Linked DNA regions of Homo sapiens: region 2 is linked to region 1. Evidence: promoter capture Hi-C in 16 types of primary human blood cells and fetal thymus (Javierre and others, 2016). All regions are on one chromosome and are shown on one strand. The core of a region is centred on a gene start or on the middle of the fragment in contact, and the rest is flanking DNA. Distances in the headings are between cores, read along the strand shown.

Region 1 (4,938 bases), core at 115-2,614:
CCCAGCTAATTTTTGCATTTTTAGTAGAGACCAGGTTTCACTATGTTGGCCAGGCTGGTCTTGAACTCCTGACCACAGGTGATCCACCCGCCTCAGCCTCCCAAAGTGCTGGGATTACATGTGCGAGCCACCGCGCCCGGCCTCCTTTGTCTCTTAAAGGCATTATCCAAAATACTCATCTTCCGGTTTGAAGAGCAGCAGGGATTAAATGTGTATTATGTATGCAGCAATTTGCCACTCCCTTTGCCCTGCCCCAGTTACTGCAATAGAAAATTTCTGGGAATAAATACATCTCTGGTAAATTCAATCTTGCTAGTGAAGATTATGAAGGAAACAAAGAAAGGACACTTCCATTCCAGAAAGGTGTTTGTTTCCCAAAAGGTTAGACATTGATTCAGAACAAAGGGAACCTGAGGAAACGGGTATAAAAGAAAATCAACTCTGAATGTGAGGTATTAGAAAGCCATTTGTTTCCTAGGGAAAAGGAGGAAAGATGGGGTGGGAGACATGGGCTTTACTGTATAACCTTGGTCATGTCACCTAAACTTCTTGGAACTCCTGAGTGTAAGAGTTGGGACCAAGGATCGCAAAGCTTCTTTCATTCCTAAAATTCTATGGTTCCACGATTATGTAAGCTGAAACAGGCCATTCTGTTGATTTCCTAATCTCCAGGAGGAAAGAAACTAGTCTTTGGGAGTTAAACCGACTAATTTAACGGAGAATTACCAATGTGGAGGTGGGCGAACTTCACAATTATGGGGTTTTGGACAGTAGAGATGCTCTTAAAATTTCCAAGAGGACCCTTCCCCCGTCCTTGAACCTGGCTTTACAATTCTCTTCACTCTTTGGGATAGGGGAGCGGGTAGAACCTAGTTTAGATTGAGGTCGTTCATTTGAGCATTTCCCCTTTACTTATTTTGGGACCTTTAACGACCAAATGCCGAGAAACAGATCCTTAATTACGGTTCCGGGATCTCGAAAGGCCTGTAAAATCCTGCTTCCGCATCTTCATCCTTTCTTCGGGTATTGGGATCTTTTTTAAAAATGTGTATTTCTGGCGGAGGGGGCATGGAGTGAGGTTCAGAACAGCAGAGCCGGGCTGACGGATGCTTCTTTCGCGGGAGGCTTGGCTTGCGGGACTCCGGGTTGGGGCCGCACGGGCTGGCAGGCGGGCTCCGGGCAACAAGGGCGCGGCTGCGGACTGGCGGGCGGACCCCGGGGAGGGGCTTCACGGAGGCGCCGCGGCCGGAGCGGAGCGGAGCCGCCCGGGCTGGGCGCGCAGCGCTGCCGGGCGGGCGGTGGCGCTGCGGAGGCGGTGGCCGAGGCCGACGAGCGCGGAGGAGGGGCCCGAGGCTGGGGCGGCTGGTGGCAGCTGCCTCAGTGACGACTGCCGGCATCGCGGCGACCTGAGGAGATCAAGCCGCAGGCCCCGCCGTCGCCACCACTCCCGCCAGTCTTCCTTCTCCGCTCCCGGCCGGGGCGTCAGGAATGGGCCCCAATCGCCGTGGGCCCCGCACCCTGCGTCGCCCGTAGGCCCCAGTAGCCGGAGGCCGACCGGCCTCCCACTACCCCTCGCCCTAGCCAAGCCGTCCCCACCCCAAATCCCCGGGAAGGAAGATGAGGGAGACGGGCCCGGCGCTTAGCAGCCAGAGCAGCAGCAGCAGCAGCAGCGGTCGGGGGAGGGTGTTTCGCCGTTTCCTCTCAGCCGCCAGGACAAGATGGCAGCGGCCGCGGAGAGGGGCTGAGCCCGGGCTGGGTGGTGCCGCCTGCTGAAGCGCCTGGCTCCCGGTCCCCGGCACGGCCCTGCGCCCCACCCCGGACATGCTCAGGGCTGCGGCCGCCCGAAGAGGAGAGAGCGCGGGCCTCTAGGAAGGTAAGGGAGTCGAGCGAGGGGCGCCGCCACCCCGGGGTGGGGGGATCGGCTCCGTCTGCGGGCTCCGCGGCCAGCGGACCCCAAGCCTGACCCGGGCCTGGCCCGACACCTCCGGCGCAGCCCGCACTCATTGCGCGTCCCGTGCCCCATCCGCATCCCCAGCGCTCTCGTGCTCCCAGTTTCCGCCCTAGCCCCTGCAGTGTGGCCCGGTATGAGCCGCTCCCTCGAAGCCGGCGCCACGCCAGGCCCTGGGCCGCCGGACGCGGGGGCCGTAGCCTCCGGGAAGCCGCGCCTGGCCGGGGCCCGGGGGCCTCGGCCCCCCCTCCCCCTGCCAAGGTTGCGCAACGGCTCTTCCCAGCAACCGAAGTTTTGTTTAGTCCCACGGGGAGCCTCTCTTCCCCCTCCGCAGTCCTAGGCCGTAACTACGGAGATCCCTTTCCTTTCATTAAGGGGAACAAACAAACGCGCAGGCACGCAGCTTGAGCACCCCAGCCGATGGCCGCGTCCCGGGCTTTGTGGCCCCGTCCCCAGCGTCGCGGAGCAGCGGGTTTGCAGGGTGTCAACTCTGGGGACGTGCGTGCGTGTGTGTGATTGTTGGGGAGGAGAAATGTGATCCGCGGCTCCGCGTCCCCAGCGGCGGCGGGAGGAAGGCGTGGCGGCCGCGCGGCGGGGCTGTTGCCGGCTTCTCTCGTTACGGTGGCTGCCGCCCGCTTCCCTTCGCCGCACTGGGAGAACTGGCGGAAAGACTTTGGATGAAAATGTCTGTTTCTCTGTCGGGAGGGAGACGGCTGTTGTAAAATGGTATGTGGCTCTCGGGGAATCCTGTTGTTCCCGTCTCATCTCTGCTTGAGGAATTGCGCTGAAGAGTGTGTGCGTAAATTACCTTGGACTTGTTACAGAGTAGTCGTAACACGTTCAGGCCTTGAACCGTGTTTTCACAACCTCTTACTGCCCTGTTAGGGAATTTGTTTTTCCACCTGTCAGTTGGCTGCTTCTAATTATAATAAGGGGCTTCTATTAGCAACAGCAAAAAATTTCAGTTTATCGTCCAGTTTAGAGGGAAAGCGCATGGTTGGCTCTATTGTAAACTTTGTTTTGATGTCTGTCTGGTACAGGGCCGGAAAAGTTAGCTGGCAAACCAGTCTGCGTGTGCTTTTGCGTACTTTCTAGTAGTTTGGAGATCTGCTGACACTTTTTCCCTTTTTGCTATTTTAGGTATTTGCTTTTAGCTGTAGCTTCTGAAGTGGGAGTACTTATATTCATTCAAACCATCTCAGTTAATTTCAAAGTTTTAGTTGCTGGGCTCTTTAAAATTTTTAAAGAGGTTTCCTTTCTGATCAAATTTTTGATGAAAAGTCTTGAGCCGTAACGGTGGTTACTGCTTACCCAACTAAGACATTTTAATCCTATATTATTTAATTTTTCAGAAGCTGGTGAAGTCTCACCATATGTTTGATAAGTCTAGATTCTGCTTATGTTTGCAAGTGCAGTGCTAATTTTATACAATGAGCAATGATAAGGTTTAGATAGGTCATGATTAAACTTAGTATTTTAAGTAAACAAAATATGACTGACCTTTTGTAAAAAAAGTTTTCATAGTTTTATTGATTATCTTATGCTTTCGTGCCACTTATCAGTAATTGCAATTTTACCAGCCAGATACAGTTATTTAGTTTTAAGTCAATGAAATATTTCTTGGTGTATTTATGGCTGCATTCATAAAGTGTAGAGGACTTTTATTTCTGAACTATAATGCTTAACCTGTTTGAGATTTTTCTTTTTTGAAATTTACTTATTTAAAATTTATGTTAAGGCAGAGATGTGTTGAAATATTTGTGATGTTTGGGCATGTCTTTTTTTTTTTGTACTTATGGAAAAATTTGTTCCTTAATCCCCCCCTCTGCCTCCCGCCCCCCGCCCCAAGGGGATCTCTTTTCTAAGAAAAAAGTATTTGTGGAGAACCTTAGATTAAAACTGTTGTAAAAAAGTAAGATGAGTTTGAAATCTAGAACAGAACTGGCCATTAAATGTTTCAACTTTATATTTGGGCATTGCTGACTACAGTAGCTAAACATACATATTAGGCAAGCAGATCATAACATGATAAGTCAGCCTTACTTAGTTTATTGTCAAAATATATTTTCCATTGAACTAGTCATTACCTTGCTTATAAACTGGTCATTGGCTTTTGGGCATGGGATTTTAGAGTCACATTAAAATGGATGGTTTATATGAGATACTTCTTCTTGTAAACATGTTTGAAAAGAAGCTGTAGATCATACTCTTAACTTTTTGGATACCATAAAATAGGGTGTAAATTACAGACGTAGGTTGCTGTTGCAAGTATGGCGTGGGCACATAGGTTTTTATGTTTAATGCAAGATATGGAGAGCCTCCCTGCACCCCCTGCAACTTAAAAAAGCAGCAGCTATCAAATTAATTTTTTGATTGAACTTTTGTTTTTAATATTTGATGCATGAACCTGAAAGCATATGGAAAGGAGGAAAGGGAAAATGTAAATTTCAGAATGCCGCAATATTATTTTTCAGACCTGATTCACATCCATTTCATGGAATGCTTGTTTGCATGTTATTTTTTATTTGAATGCTAGTACGACTTATCCTGGTAACTTTTGAAGTTAACTTTATTTTACCAGGTAAGAGAGTTAACTTATTAAATGTTATTTTCATAGCAACAGTTTACCAAGTATGATGATAAGGTAAATTAGAATTGCACTATTGGTGGTTAATTCAAAGGCATAAAAATGTAGTTCCCATTGGAACCTCACATTTAAGTTTGGAGATGAAAAGATGTCATGGTAATATTTAGATTCAAAGATATTCTAAGGAAATTCTCCATATTTAAATATCCTTCCAGAAGTTGTTATTCCTGACTCTTAACTCTTAGAGGACACAGAATAACTTGATTTATTGTTGCCAAAATAAATATTCGTGTTGTAGCTGTCCTGGTTTTCTGATGTCCAAAGTTGAGACTCCCAATGTAGTATGTTTAACTTGGAAGTTACTTCTGAAGACAAACTACTAAAACTTTGTTAAAATGGATGA
Region 2 (5,273 bases), core at 641-3,140, 790 kb after region 1:
CAGCCGGCCCTCAGAGTCTCCATTAGTCATTCAGCGGGCGGGGCCCAGCCAGCAGCGCTTTAGCAAGCCCTCCAGGCCGTTCTGACTCTTCCCCGAGAAAAGGCTTCAGCTTTTCAAGTATAACGTACTATACAAGAGCTGAAACTACAGACTTGCTGAGTCACCCTTCCTTTCTCTTGGTCACCCGAACCTTCCATTCACCATTCTGCCTGGATTCCATTCTGCCTGGATTCTTCTCTCGGCATATTTCTCTCGATATTTTCTCTTCCATCTTGGAATCTGCTTCTTCCTGAATCAGCACCTCGAGTTTGCCGTCCTTTTCCATCTATCAACATGCCCTACTTAAGACACTGTCACAGCACTACCTGGGAGGAAAGATAGGAAGATACCATGAAAAGAAGATGTTTTTGAACATTTTTGGCACTTATTTTTGTGAAAATGAGTAGCATGTACACTCTACGTCTATAGAGCAGAGATTCACAAGCTTGAATGTGCAAAGGGGAGTTTCGTTTTTTAAATGGATGTTCCTAGGTTTCAGATTCTGGGATGTAGAGGCAATGTCTGGGGGGGAGTCTAGGAATTTTCATTTTGACAAGTACCCCAGGTCATTTGGAAATTGGTGGTCCTTGCCTACTTTGGGAAGCACTGCATCAAAGACGAGAATTGGGGTGTGGGGGGTAGGGCTCTCTCCTTTGCAAATTCTACATCCACTGAAAATCTATGCAAGAAAAAAACAAACACAGGACCTACATCTTCTCATGACATTTTTCACATCTCTAGTGATTTGGTGCTTAGGAGACCTTTAAATCAAGTTCTCAGGCTCTCAAGATAAACAAGTTATCAACACACAAAGAGTAAACCATTAATATAGGGGGAGTTGTGCTGTTAGGTGTGAAAATTATTCTTGAAATAATACTATCCTGACCAGCTATAGGAACAATCTTGAATAAGCTGATTACTTCTATACTTATATTCCCCTAGTATGTATTAACTGAGATACATAAAGTTTTATTCCTTCCAAAATTCATGGAGCAGTTAGTTGTTACCTTGAAGGAAGTTATTTTTCTCAAATTATTGTTCACAGTGGTTGTATGTATTAGTAGGGGAATTGATACACAGAATACTTTATTGCCTGAAATGACCATGATTATTCATATTGCCAAGATGCAAGATCACCCTACGAACAGATCAGCTTGCATCTTGGCAACATGCATAATGCAGTTAGTTCTCTTTTTTTTCTTTTCCTTCCTTCCTTCCTTCCTTCCTTCCTTCCTTCCTTCCTTCCTTCCTGTCTCTCTCCCCCCTCCACGCTCCCCCCTTTTTCTCTTTCTTTCTTTCTCTTTCTCTCTCTCTCTCTCCCCCACCCGCGCCCCACCCCCCTTCTTTCTTTCTTCCTTTTTTTTTTTTTTTTTTTTGAGACAGAGTCTTGCTCTGTTGCCCAGGCTGGAGTGCAGTGCCGTGATCTCAGCTCACTGCAACCTCCGCTTCCTGGGTTCAAGTGATTCTCCTGCCTCAGCCTCCTGAGTAGCTAGGATTACAGGCATGCACCACCATACCCGCCTAATTTTTACATTTTTTTTAGTAGAGACGGGGTTTCGCCACGTTAGCCAGACTGGTCTCAAACTCCTGACCTCAGGTGATCCACCCACCTTAGCCTCCCAAAGTGCTGGGATTACAGGCGTGAGCCACCTCAATAAGGCATTTCTAAAGGCATTTTTAATTTGGGGCGCCAGTGTCATCAGAGTAGCTTTACTTGTAAAGTGCTAGAACAAGTGACTACTTTTTTGTTTTGTTTTTTGAGATAGAGTCTTGCCCTGTCACCCAGGCTGGAGTGCAGTGGCGCAATCTTGGTTCACTGCAACCTCTGCCTCCCAGGTTCAAGTGATTCTCCTTCCTCAGCCTCCTGAGTAGCTGGGATTACAGGCACCCGCCACCATGCCCGGCTAATTTTTGTATTTTTAGTAGAAACAGGGTTTCACCATGTTGGCCAGGCTGGTCTCGAACTCCTGACCTTGGGTGATCCGTCTGCCTTGGCCTCCCAAAGTGCTGGAATTACAAGCATGAGCCACCGTGCCTGGCCAGTGACTACATCTTTTATCTCATAAAATAGAACAGCATTTCCCAAACTCGGCATTATTGATGTTTTGGTCTGAATAATTGTGTGTTGTTTTGTGCATTGTAAGATGTTTAGAAGCATCTTTGGCCTCTACAAACTGGATGCAATTAACATCTTCCCCTCAAGTTGTGACAACTAAATACTTCTAGACATTGCTAGTGATTTGGTGCTTAGGAGACCTTTAAATCAAGTGTCCCCGAGGGACAAAATCACCACAGGTTGGGAACCACTGAAATAGAAACATGATGTTAAGACAACATACAATTCATATAAGTAACTATATGAAAGATTTTAGTACCTGTGGCCAAGGTGTTTTTGCTTTTAAAACATTTTTATTTTTAGGCTGGGCGCAGTGGCTCAGGCCTGTAATCCCAGCTCTTTGGGAGGCCAAGGCAGGTGGGTTGCCTGAACTCAGGAATTTGAGGCCAGCCTGGCCAACATGGTGAAATCCTGTCTCTACCAAAAATACAAAAATTAGTCGGGCATGATGGCATGCACCTGTAATCCCAGCTACTCGGGAGGCTGAGGCAGGAGAACCACTTGAACCCAGGAGGTAGAGATTGCAATGAGCTGAGATCTTGCCACTGCACTCCAGCCTGGGCGACAGAATGATACTCCATCTCAAAAAAATAAATAAATAAAATAAAATAAAAATAAAATTTTTATTTTTTAGATGCTGGGTTTTACTCTGTTGTCCACGCTGGAGTGTAGTGACATGATATTGCATCCTCGAACTACTGGGCTCAACTAATGCTCTCATTTCAGCCTCCCGAGTAGCTGGGATTTCAAGCACATACCACTGTGTTTACTTTTACATTGAGTAAAGTGTGTAGCTTCTAAGAGTGTTCAATAACAAACAACAGTATTTCGTGAAATCTGAAATAACTATTCTGAACATATTGTACCTCTACAAAACATGAAGTCCTGTTTCTAAGCATAATATTACACGCAAGAAAAGGTGGACATAGGAAAATATAAGCGGAAAAGGATGTTATCTCAGCTGATGACCAAAATGTAAGAATTCAGAGACAGTATGGACCAATAGTAATAATAATATTAAAACCGTACTGATATGTTAATACAGTAGGCAATACTTAGTGACAAAATAGTTGTGCCAGGCATGCTATTGCTTATGAGGATCCAGAGATGGAAAAACAAAACGACTGCTCTTTTTCTTTGAAAAGCTTAGAGTTTAGTGGTGGTTCATGGACACATAGACAATCATTGATTGAATTACAATAAAAAAGACTGTACTGGAAAAATTATGATAGAAATGTCTACTCCTGACTTGTAGTAAAATGATGGAAAAACAAATTTAAGAAACTTTAAGAGCCTTAGCTATGTGAACAGTGTAGTTCACACTTTGGTCAGGTTTCTGTCAACCTGAAACAAAGAGGCAGTTCATATAATTCAGATGAAGATTCCTCTCTTTTGCTACAAATAAGCATTAGCTTATTGGGTGACTCAAGTTCAAGCAGTTGAATTATTTTGCTAAAATGATCAGGATAAATAGTTTAATTATTCACTTTGTGGAAACTTCAAAGTGCTGTGGTCTAATGAATTGAACAAGCAAATGTCAGCTTGAAAGATTTGTTATTGAAATATATTATTTTGCATATTGTTGTATTTGCTTTATGTTAATATATTTAATATTGGCATATATTAAAGTATACCAAGGTTTTTAAATTTATAAACCATTTATAAACATATTCTGCTCCTCCAGTGTGTTTTCTGGGAACCCTTTATTTCTTCAATGATGCAATGACTGCAAGTTACTGCATAGCTCTGTACTAGAAAAAAGGGTTTAAAAAATGAGTATTTAAAATTCACATAAACATAGCTTCAGTCAAGTAGGAAATACACAAATTTGAATGACTGAGACCTTGGCATTGATCTGGGCAGGAAGTGAGCTTTAGGACACAGCTTTGCCTTAAATTTATTGGTCTTTCTGGACTTGCTGACCTGAACAGACAAACGCAGAATGTCAGAACACCAATGAAATGGGATTGGGATGATATAGGAAGTGAAAGCGTGACAGCTTCATATATTCACCAAATATTTCTGGCTCATCTGCTTCCTACCCGGCATCTGATAGAATACCATCTCTTGACTCCCTTATAGTTGGATAGGGTCATGTGACTCTTTTTGGCCAATGAATTTAAGCAGATGTGATGCATATCTACTTGTCTAAAGCATTTAATTGACTGAGATATTCCTGAGTTCTCTTGTGGTACAGTGATCAGCAACACTTGAGATATGGCATCAGCATGAATCTACTGAGTGACTACTACGAACAGGGCCCTCTGTTGAACTGTGATGGATGTGTACCATTTGCAGTTGTTTTTTGTTTTTTGAGACAGTCTCACTCTGTTGCTTAGGCTGGAATGCAGTGGCACAATCTTGGCTCACTGCAGCCTCTGCCTCCCGGGTTCTCGTGCCTCAACCTCCTGAGCAGCTGTAATTACAGGCATGCGCCACCACACCCAGCAAATTTTTTTGTATTTTTAGTAGAGACAGGATTTGCCATATTGGCCAGGCTGGTCTCGAACTCCTGACCTCAAGTGATCTGCCAGCCTTGGCTTCCCAAAGTGTTGGAATTACAGGCATGAGCCCCTTCACCTGGCCCCTTTGTAGTTTTAAACCAGGGATTGGCAAACACTTTTTTTGTAAAAGAAGAGATAGTATTCTAGGTTTTGCACACCCTACTGTCTGTTGCACACCCAAGTACTCAACTCTGCTGTGCTATGGCAGAGAGGCAGTCATAGAATGGATGTGCATAGATGGATTGGATGTCTCCCAATAAAACTTTAGACATTGGTCAATTCCGAGGAACAAAACAGTGATTTCTGAAACTTTAATGTACACACAAATCTCCTGAAGATCTTGTTAAAATGTAGATTCAGTTAAGTCTGCTATGCAGTCCAAGATAGTAGTGATAGTGGTAGTGAGAGAGGTTGGGCTGAATAAACTTTGAGTTGCAAGGAGCTAAAGGATTATCATCTCCGTTTCTAGCCTCTAGGCCTGGCATAATTGCTCAGCGTAGTGCTAAGGATGGTTTAGGTGACTAAATTTTGAAACTATGACTCCCCATCTAATGCAGCAAAAGCCAAAGTCCTTACCGTGGTCTTTCAGGCCCTACAAGACCAGCCCCCTTTAA

What was found. The method cuts DNA at HindIII sites, captures the fragments that hold promoters and counts their contacts. A CHiCAGO score of 5 or more calls a contact.
Region 2: a fragment that was not itself captured here is called in contact with the fragment with the promoter of HIPK3 in region 1 in 1 of 17 cell types (monocytes); the score reaches 5.2 in monocytes.

The regions. Positions count from the first base shown.
Region 1 is chr11:33,256,017-33,260,954 of GRCh38, forward strand. It overlaps HIPK3 (homeodomain interacting protein kinase 3), which reads left to right and starts at 1,365. Exons shown (of 17, transcript NM_005734.5): 1 at 1,365-1,873. RefSeq lists silencers at 1,120-1,449, 1,710-2,049, 2,120-2,319 and enhancers at 2,660-2,709, 2,750-2,839. The HindIII fragment of the contact is 4,438 bases long and covers 591-4,938 here.
Region 2 is chr11:34,045,011-34,050,283 of GRCh38, forward strand. LOC101929918 (a long non-coding RNA gene) reads right to left here. Exons shown (of 3, transcript XR_931177.3): 3 at 1-365. Among named protein-coding and RNA genes, the nearest start is that of CAPRIN1, 4.1 kb to the right of the region's middle. The HindIII fragment of the contact is 2,816 bases long and covers 483-3,298 here.